Linked DNA regions of Homo sapiens: all the other regions are linked to region 1. The links are contacts of gene promoters, found by promoter capture Hi-C in blood cells and fetal thymus (Javierre and others, 2016). All regions are on one chromosome and are shown on one strand. Each heading gives the region's core, a stretch centred on a gene start or on the middle of the fragment in contact. The rest is flanking DNA. Distances are from core to core; before and after follow the strand shown.

Evidence for each region. The method cuts DNA at HindIII sites, captures the fragments that hold promoters and counts their contacts. A CHiCAGO score of 5 or more calls a contact.
Region 2: a fragment that was not itself captured here is called in contact with the fragment with the promoter of BPNT1 in region 1 in 1 of 17 cell types (total CD8 T cells); the score reaches 5.1 in total CD8 T cells.
Region 3: the fragment with the promoter of DHX9 here is called in contact with the fragment with the promoter of BPNT1 in region 1 in 1 of 17 cell types (naive CD8 T cells); the score reaches 5.5 in naive CD8 T cells.

The regions. Positions count from the first base shown.
Region 1 is chr1:220,088,441-220,091,584 of GRCh38, reverse strand. BPNT1 (3'(2'), 5'-bisphosphate nucleotidase 1) reads left to right here and starts at 1,797. Exons shown (of 9, transcript NM_006085.6): 1 at 1,797-1,899. RefSeq lists an enhancer at 1,497-1,686. The HindIII fragment of the contact is 18,631 bases long and covers 1-3,144 here.
Region 2 is chr1:186,380,493-186,383,846 of GRCh38, reverse strand. ODR4 (odr-4 GPCR localization factor homolog) reads right to left here. Exons shown (of 14, transcript NM_017847.6): 3 at 691-825. Among named protein-coding and RNA genes, the nearest start is that of ODR4, 6.3 kb to the right of the region's middle. The HindIII fragment of the contact is 1,244 bases long and covers 849-2,092 here.
Region 3 is chr1:182,837,697-182,840,822 of GRCh38, reverse strand. DHX9 (DExH-box helicase 9) reads right to left here and starts at 1,476. Exons shown (of 28, transcript NM_001357.5): 1 at 1,367-1,476. It overlaps DHX9-AS1 (DHX9 antisense RNA 1), which reads left to right and starts at 1,232. Exons shown (of 2, transcript NR_148933.1): 1 at 1,232-1,511; 2 at 2,889-3,126. RefSeq lists a silencer at 1,157-1,586 and an enhancer at 1,010-1,851. The HindIII fragment of the contact is 6,331 bases long and covers 1-3,126 here.

The DNA of each region.
Region 1 (3,144 bases), core at 548-3,047:
ATCTTTGACCCACGGTTTCACATCTGGGATCTATCACAGCTATAGTCTTCCAGGAGCACAAAGATATATTTACATAGAAACTCTCCTAACCAACCTCTACATAACTTGCTGAATTCAACTATGCCGTTTTCTCGTAAAACCTATGAGAGGATACAATGAACACTTGGGAGATGGCTACTCTTTAGGATGACTGCAGATTTCTATTCTCACTTGTTGAGCTTACCTTGCATTATGTTTGTCTTTATTTAAGCCATTTGTACTTGTCATGTAATTATACAATTTAATTATAAAAACCAAAGTATGGCCAGGTGCAGTGGCTCATGCCTGTAATCTCAGCACTTTGGGAGGCCGAGGCGGGCGGATCATGAGGTCAGGAGTTCGAGACCAGCCTGGCCAACATGGTGAAACCCCGTCTTTACTAAAAAAAAAAAAAATGCAAAAACTAGCTGGGCTGGGTGGTGTGCGCCTGTAGTCCCAGTTACTCAGGAGGCTGAAGCAGGAGAATAGCTTGAACCCTGGGAGGCAGAGGTTGCAGTGAGCCGAGATCAAGCCATTGCACTCCAGCCTGGGCGACAGAGTAAGACGCCGTCTCAAAAAATATATATATGTATATATGTGTGTGTGTGTGTGTGTGTATATATATATATATATATATATATATATATATATATATGGTTAAAGTAATATAATTTAAGTTATGTATATTTTTCCACTTCCCAAAAAGGGTCTACTTAACTCACAGAGTTATTGTGAAAATCAAATGAAGACGTAAAAGCCTTTTTAAGCTGGGCGCAGTGGCTCACACCTGTAATCCCAGCACTTTGGGAGGCCGAGGTGAGCAGATCACCTGGGGTCAGGAGTTCAAGACCAGCCTGGCCAATATGATGAAACCCCGTCTCTACTTAAAAAACAAACAAAATTAGCCCGGCGTGGTGGCGCGCCTGTAGTCCTAGCTACTTGGGAGGCTAAGGAGGAAGGATCGCTTGAACCCAGGAGGAGGAGGTTGTAGTGAACCTAGACTGCGCCACTGCACTCCAGCCTGGGCGACAGGATGAGACACTGCCCCCTTCCCCAACCACGCCCCCCAGTAAAAGATCCCATCTGTACACAAAAAATATTTTAATTAGCTGGGTGTGGTGGCGCGCACCTCCACCAGTAGTCCCAGCTACACGGAAGGCTGAGGCGGGAGGATGGCTTGAGCCTAGAAGTGGGAAGGCAGCAGTGAGCCGTAATCGACTCTGGGCGACAGAGCAAGCTATCTATCGCTTAAAAAAAAAAAAAAAAAAAAAAAAAAAAAGGTAAGCAAGCATCTTTGACACAATTCTGCATAAAGTTGCTGTGTTATTGCGTGGGGAGTGGGAGGTGGAGGTGTGTGTGGTGGACCTGCTGAAGCCTGTCCACGGACCGCTAGGGGTTCGAAGTTAAATAGCCGCAGAGTGGTATCACTAATACAAAGAACATTTTAAAACAGTGAACTCTACGAAGTGGGCTGGAAGACAGCTGAAACCAAAACCAATCTTTTTTTTGTTTCAACACACTGTTGCTGGCTTAATGTGTTCTTTCCTTCTTCTTTTTCTTTTTTTAGCCAATCTTTGAAAGTTGACACATCTTTCGCTTTTATTTAATGCAACAGGTGACTTGCACCTACGGAGAGCTTGGAGAAAACACGGACAAGTGGAATTTTCCCGCGGATCAGGAGTCTAAAGAGGCAGTGTGAAATCGCTGTTGTGCGCTTGCGCGCAGTTTCCCGCATGCTCAGTAGCTGAGGTAGGGATGCCATCCTTCTCAAAAGACTTATTGACAGTGCCAAAGCTCGGTACTGGACACAACGAGGGACCTGGGTCTACGATAACGCGCTTTTGCTCCTCCTGAAGTGTCTTTGGTCCAACGTTGTTCCAGGTTTGTCACCGTTTCTCTCCGGCCGGTCAGGGCAAGAGCCAGGTAGATAGGATTTATGTTAAAAAAATAAAACGAAAAAGGTTTATGTGAATCAGATTGCTTCTCCAGATATTCTAACTTCCGACTTGGACTCTTGAGTGTCGATATTTTAATTGTTTATCTGTGCTTTTATTTTCGTGATCCGGAAGGTTTTTATAGCCATATACTGTAGAAACAAGACAAACCTAGACATTGAGTTTGTTGATGCACCCAAATTTAGAAACTGCTTGGTACCTAAAATTAAATTTCTTTAAACAGCAAATATTCTTCCAACTGCCATTTCTACATATTTATAGGTTTGCGTGATTTATTTGGATTTCTCTGTAAATATAATTGTTGGTTCAAAAGATACGTACTTTATACTTTTATTAAGGTTCTCAAAACTCTCCTAAGAGGGTTCACCGCTTTGCCAACAATGCTCAGGAACATGTTCCCTCACACCCTTGCAAACTGGACAAAGGACAAACTCTTCTTCTTTCTTCTTTTTTCTTCTTCTTCTTCCTCCTCCTTCCTCCTCCTTCTTTTTTTTTTTTTTTTTTTTTTTTCGAGACGGAGTCTCGCTCTGTCGCCCAGGCTTGAGTGCAGTGGTGCAATCTCGGCTCACTGCAAGCTCCACCTCCCAGGTTCACGCCATTCTCCTGCCTCAGCCTCCCGAGTAGCTGGGACTACAGGCGCCCACCACCAAGCCTGGCTAATTTTTTTTGTATTTTTAGTAGAGACGGGGTTTCACCGTGTTAGTCAGGATGGTTTCGATCTCCTGACCTCGTGATCTGCCCGTCTCGGCCTCCCAAAGTGCTGGGATTACAGGCGTGAGCCACCGCGCCCAGCCTTTCTTTCTTTCTTTTTTTTTTTTTTTTAAGACAGGTTCTAGCTCTGTCCCCCAGGCTGGAGTACAGTGGTGCCATTATGTCTCACTGCAACCTTGACCTCCCAGGGTCTGGTGATTCTCCCACCTCAGCCTCCCGAGCAGCTGGGACTACAGGCATGTGCCACCACACCATCTAATTTTTGCATTTTTTTGTAGAGACGAGGTTTTGCCATGTTGCCCAGGCTGGTCTCGAACTCCTGAGCTCAAGCAATACACCAGCCTTGGCCTCCCAAAAAGTTCTAGGATTACGGGTGTGAGCCACTGCATTCAGCGACAATTTTTTTTTTTTTTTTTTTTTTTGAGTCGGAGTCTCTGTCGCCCAGGCTGGACTGCAGTGG
Region 2 (3,354 bases), core at 221-2,720, about 34 Mb after region 1:
AGGCTGGTCTTGAACTCCTGACCTCAGGTGATCCACCCACCTTGGCCTCCCAAAGTGCTGGGATTACAGGCAAGATTTTATTTTTTTTTTAAATATAACTACACACTGCTCCATAATCAAACACATACACAGACACAAATATATGTCCATATATATATATATATATATCTACATACACAGAAACACGTTTGAGTTTAAAAGATTTAAAGATTTAAAGTTGATTGGAAAAGGAAATAAATCTTTTATTTATTAAAGAAAATTCTTTTTCTTAAAACAAACAAACAAAAACGCAGAATGTGCAAGTCTGTCACATAGGTTTACGTGTGCCATGGTGGCTTGCTGCACCTATTGACCTGTCCTCTAAGTTCCCTCCCCTCACCCCCAACCCCAGAAAAGGAAATAATTCTATTTTTACCTTATTCTAACATTATTTATTTGATGATATATAATTCATTCAATAAATACTTGTAAGTGAATTAATTTAGTCATTATTCCCACTCACCCATCCCAAATCTGTTTCTTCCTCGTGTAATGCCAACAGTATCCTCCTAGACACCCAGACTAAAAATCTCAGTCATCTTTAGCTACTTTCTCCCTATGTCTCTTCTCTCTACTCATTCACTAAATCTTCTTGATTCTAGCTCTTTTTTGAAATAAAACTTAAACATATAAACAAAAAAATAAGATAACCTGGCAGGCATGTTCTGTGGCCCATTCTTCATCCAAGTTATCCAACTTAGCTTTGGGATGTTTGAGGTTCTCACTTTGCTCCTCTTTGGGTGGCGTTCTAGTGGCAAGAATCACATAATCCTTTTGTGACGAACACTTCAACAACAAATTAAAAAGCTTGTTAGAGTGATATCTGATTCCTCAATCTAATTAGAGTGATACCTAAATTCCTTAGCTTTTATGACATGCAAAAACTGAGTAATATTTGTAACAGGTTAAATCATTAATACCCACATTATAATGGAAGCTAAAGGGAAGCTAATTTTCAAGGATGGCCTTACAATCTTTCCCTCACATGTTGTTTATCTTTTAATGTATTTAATATCAGCTTCTTATTTATTTGGACAACTCAAATGTAAATCATGGAGTGGTCCCTAAAAATGGTTTACTGGATGAGTGAATGAATTACATTAACTAAAAAGTAATATGCTTATTCAGTTTTCTAGTTATATTTGTTTTATAAGTTATAAATGAACAGATCGGAAAATATTAGTAAAATGAAACAACAAGTGACCTTTTGTATCTTATTTTAATTGAAATGATGACAGTAGGGAACTTCCACATACATTTCCACAGAATAACAAAGGGGATTTGGGACACAATTTAAAGTGATACAGATTCTATGTTCCTCAAGTTTTTTGTTTTGTTTTGTTTTTTGTTCTTTGTGTGTGTGTGTATTTATTTATTTATTTAGAGACAGGGTCTTGCTCTAATGCCCAGGCTGGAGTGCAGTGGTGTGATCATAGCTCACTGCAACCTTGCACTCCTGGGCTCAAGCAATCCTCCCCCCAAGTAGTCTCCCAAGTAGCTAGGACTACAGGCTCAAACAATCAGCCATAATGCCTGGCTTTTTTTTTTTTTTTTTTTTACTTTTTTGTAGAGACAGAGTCTTGCTATGTTGCCCAGGCTAGGTCAAACTCTGACCTTCAAGCAATCCTCCCACCTCGGCCTCCCAAAGCATTGGGATTACAGGCATGAGCCACCACACCCAATCTGTTCTTCAGCTGTAATATCAGTTAAGTAGTAACCAAAGTTGGGAGATCTAAAAATAAATGTAGGGGAACATTCAATAGCTCAGTTTCACTACAGTGAAAGTTTCCTATAAAAAAAGAGTGAAAATAACACTGCTAATGCAAGTTAGCATTGTATCTTCCCCACACATGACCTGAAACTCTGATCATTAGTATCATCTTGGGATAGAAAATAAGAGTAACTATTCCTACAGGTTATTTTCAGGAAGTTACATTCAAATAAACACAGGAAAAGAAAGTAGGTCTCAGTTAAGAAGGCTCCTCTTTTCTTCATAAAATGTATAACTTTGAAAAGAAAAAGAAACTGACAGAGACCAGGAAACAGGCAAGCTTAAGAGGAAGGAGAGGAAAAAGTAATGAACTCTGGAAGAAAAAGCACGTAGAATACTGAAAGGAATGAATTGCTCTGTCCGTGAGCAATACATACTACAGCATAAAAAGAGATAGAAGGAAGGCCTTAGGCCGGGCGCGGTGGCTCACGCCTGTAATCCCAGCACTTTGGGAGGCCGAGGCAGGCGGATCACGAGATCAGGAGATCGAGACCATCCTGGCTAACACGGTGAAACCCCGTCTCTACTAAAAATACAAAAAATTAGCCGGGCGAGGTGGCGGGCGCCTGTAGTCCCAGCTACTCGGGAGGCTGAGGCAGGAGAATGGCGTGAACCCCAGGGGGCGGAGCCTGCAGTGAGCCGAGATTGCGCCACTGCACTCCAGCCTGGGCGACAGCGAGACTCCGTCTCAAAAAAAAAAAAAAGAAGGAAGGCCTTAAATTATGAGACACTCATTTGTAAGATGGCAGTTTGCCTGAGCTTTAGAAACAACCTTTATCCAGTTAAGACAAATTTAGAAGAGGGTCTTTCTCCCTGACTTTTTATCTCTACTGATCACATCTTTCTCTAAGACTCTTCTTCTCTTAAATGTTTTAAACAAAGAGAAAGAAAAAAACTTAAATAGAAAACTCCTAACAAAAAGAGCCCCACATTACAACTGAATTAAAAAGAAATTCACACTGTTCTCAAGAGAGGCAGTCTGGCTGTCTAATGAGAGGCCTCACAGAGTGGTGCTACCTGGTTGAACCATGTAGATCTGCCCTCTGTCTTGCAAATTAAGAAATCTGATTTGTAAAAATTCTGAAAATGAGCCTGTCTTTCATGGCTAGACTGACATTGATTAAGTTTATTCAGAATGATGTAGAAAACTAAAATGTCATGAAGGCATCTGAACACTTGAGTCCTCTGGACAGTGTATTCTTTATAAGTAGATAACATGGGGCATCAAATTATAAAAGAAAGTAGCTTGGGAATATGGGTAGAATCAGAATAAGGAAAGTTAATTATGTAATTTGAAGATTCTAAGGCATCAGGCTAAGATATCTAGAAAGAAAATTGTCCCAATAAGAGCTTTATTGGCTAGTAGGCCTCAAAATCAAGTCCTTGGGCCAAAGTGCACTCTCCTGTGTTTGGATGGACACAGTCAGCTTGCCTGTGTGACTCTCCTTTTTTTTTTTTTTTGGCTTTGTACTGCTGACCGGTCCCTCCTGCCGATTAACACGTTCTTCCTTCACTCATAAGAAATCAGTGGCATGGGTTTTAAA
Region 3 (3,126 bases), core at 227-2,726, about 37 Mb after region 1:
GTTGAGAGTCGTCCACTCCCTTAAGATTCTCCATAGCTATCCCTTGTAGAACCCTTAATGTGTGTCAAACAATATCCATAATAGATCATCTAAATGGAACTATTTTACTTAATCCTTAGTAACCTTGTACAGGTAAGATCACTATCCCTTTAGAGAAGGGGAAACTGAGACAAAGAATATCTTGCTTCAGGAAGACAGAGCTCCTAATTATAAGAGCAAGAATTCGGGCGGGCGCGGAGGCTCACGCCTGTAATCCCAGCACTTTGGTAGGCCAAGGCAGGCGGATCACGAGGTCGAGAGATCGAGACCATCCTGGCCAACATGATGAAACCCCGTCTCTACTAAAAATACAAAAATTAGCTGGGCGTGGTGGCGCGCGCCTGTAGTCCCAGCTACTCCGGAGGCTGAGGCAGGAGAATCACTTGAACCCGGGAGACCGACGTTGCTGTGAGCCGCCATCGCGCCACTGCACTCCAGTCTGGCGACAGAGCGAGACTCTTGCAAAAAAAAAAAAAAAAAAAAAGGCGCAAGAATTCCAGAAAACGTAGCCTGACTCCAGATCTACTACCTTCCACCACTACGCATTTCTGCTTCAAAATACGTCCCCTATCCATTCGTTTCTCCCCATCTCTCCTGCCACCACTACTGCACACCCGGGCTAGTGAAATATTGTCCTACACGGTTTTTGTTTCCACTCTTGCCACCCTAAAACCCATTCTCCTTTGAAGGCCTTCTCGCCACACTCCAGTCACATGGCCTGCTTTCAGCTCCCGCCCAGTTTCTGCCCTTAAGCGATAACTAATCCCTTCCGCTTCTGCAGGCTCTGCTTTTCCTTCGCGTTGGCCGAGGTTATCAGCTCAAAGCCTCCCTCCTTCGAGACGCCTTACCTCGCTATACTAGCCAAAGGCGCTCTCCCTTTACATTCTTCAATTTTTTTTCCTCTACCCACAAGGCCTGCACGACGGCGCCAGTTATTCGTGGCTTGAATGAATGAAGAGCCCTAGGCCAGTGGCGCCCCGGCGGCAACCACCACAGGCGAAGCACCCCCTTCCCTCAGCCGCCGCGGTGCCCCGGCGTACGCAGGCCAGAGGAGGAAGCGCGCTTTGCCTGCTAGAGGCAGCAGCGGGAAACGCTGGGCGGAGGAGAGGGGAGGGGGCCACAGGCTGCCCGGACGGCGCAAGCGCATCGCGGCGAGGCGCGCACGCAACCCGCAATCCGGGGACCCGCGGGCGGCTCGTCCCTTCCCCCACCCCCAGCCGCCGCCGCCGCCCGCGCTTCGCAACAAAGCCGGCTGCGGAGCCATGGTCCACGGCGCCCGCCCGCGACCCCGCCGCCCCGCATGGTAGCCGGAACGTCTCTCCCTTACCAGCCTTCGCTTCCTGGTGCCCAGCTCTTAGGACCGTGTGTGACTCTGGCCTTCTACCGAGACAACAGAGAAACGCACAGCAACTCGCATGGAGGAATCGGCGAAATGGCTCCGACCGCGGCGCTAGGGGGCGGGGCCAGCGAGCGTACGCATGCGCAGAGCGCGTGCCAGGGCGGGGGATGGCGAGGGCGCGCCAATGGAGGGGGCGGGGCTCAGCAACCTCGCGGCGCGGAAGGGTTTCGTTGCTAGGGAGATGGGCTGAGCCGGGCGGGCATCGCGCCAGACCTGCTACTCTGGATAATCCACTCTCCTGGATAATCCACTACCCTGGATAATCGGCTGCCCGCTTTTGCGCATGTTAGGGAGTTGACGGCCTGTAGCATTCTGATGCAGCAAAATATTTCGCAGGGTCTGTCATAGGGATCTCCGGTGAGAGGAGGTTCCCTTCGAAGGCAGAACTGGAAACCTTGCTGCTAACTTGGTAGGGTTGTTGAGATAATTACATGAGATGGCATATGAAGGGCGGCTTAGTTCAATACCTGGCATGTAGTAGGTGTTCAGTGGGCGTAGTTACCGGATTGATTCAGATAGTCTGAACGCCAGTGTCTCTTGAAAGAAATAAACTGGCCGGGCGTGGTGACTGTAATCCCAGCACTTTGGGAGGCCGAGGTGGGCGAATCACTTGGGGTCAGGAGTTTGAGACCAGCCTGGCCAGCGTGGTGAAACCCCGTTTCTACTAAAAAAAAAAAAAAAAATACAAAAATTAGCCGGGCATGGGGGCGGGCGCCTGCAATCCCAGCTGCTTGGGTGGCTGGGCGGGCTCCTGCAATCCCAGCTACTCGGGAGGCTGAGGCAGGAGAATCGCTTGAACCCCGGGGTCGGGGGCGGAGGCGGAGGTTGCAGTGGGCCGAGATCACGCCATTTTCTGGGCGAGAGAGCGAGACTCCGTCTCAAAAAAAAAAAAAAAAACCATGAAAGAAATAAGCTCAGTGAAGGCGGGCATTCTGCCTGGCTAACGCAGGTCGCTCCTTGCCGTGCCTGGAACATTACTGTAAGTGCTCAGCAAACTACTTTAAGGTAGGAATAAAATCTGCAAGGTTGCTTTTGTTTAAATTGGATAACCTTTTGTGTTCCAAGTCTTTGGAGTAATTTTGTGTTCCAAGTCTTTGGAATAATTGTGTCCTTAATTATTATACTAGTCACTGTTAAATTTTGAAACTCCAGTGCGTCCCATGAAGGTAATGATACAAAACATTTCCAGCTGGGATTGTTCCAGGGAATCCAGACTAATCAATTATCTGGGCTCATTATATCTATGGATCTTTATTTTTCACCTCTTTCCTTATGTTTTTCTTAATCCTTCTAGCTGATAGTGATCACTCCCTTTAAAACTGTCATTCTTAAAATCAGAACAACATAGTTTATCATTTACTTATTATTTTCTTCATGTGATTGTTCTCCTTAATTAAGAATAAAATCATTGAAGGAAAGACCTTAATTTTTTTTTTTTTGTACCCTTCAGGGTGTTGAAAGCAGCAGGGGCCTAGAAGACATTAAACCGATACCACAGAAATACAAAGGATCATTAGAGACTATTATGAACAACTATATGCCAACAAATTGGAAACCAAATGGAAATGGATAAATTCCTGAACAGATACAACTTACCAAAATTGGACCAAGAAGAAATAGAAAACCTGAAAAGACCAACTATGAGTAATGAGATTAAATCAGTAATATAGAGTCTCCCATCAAAGAAA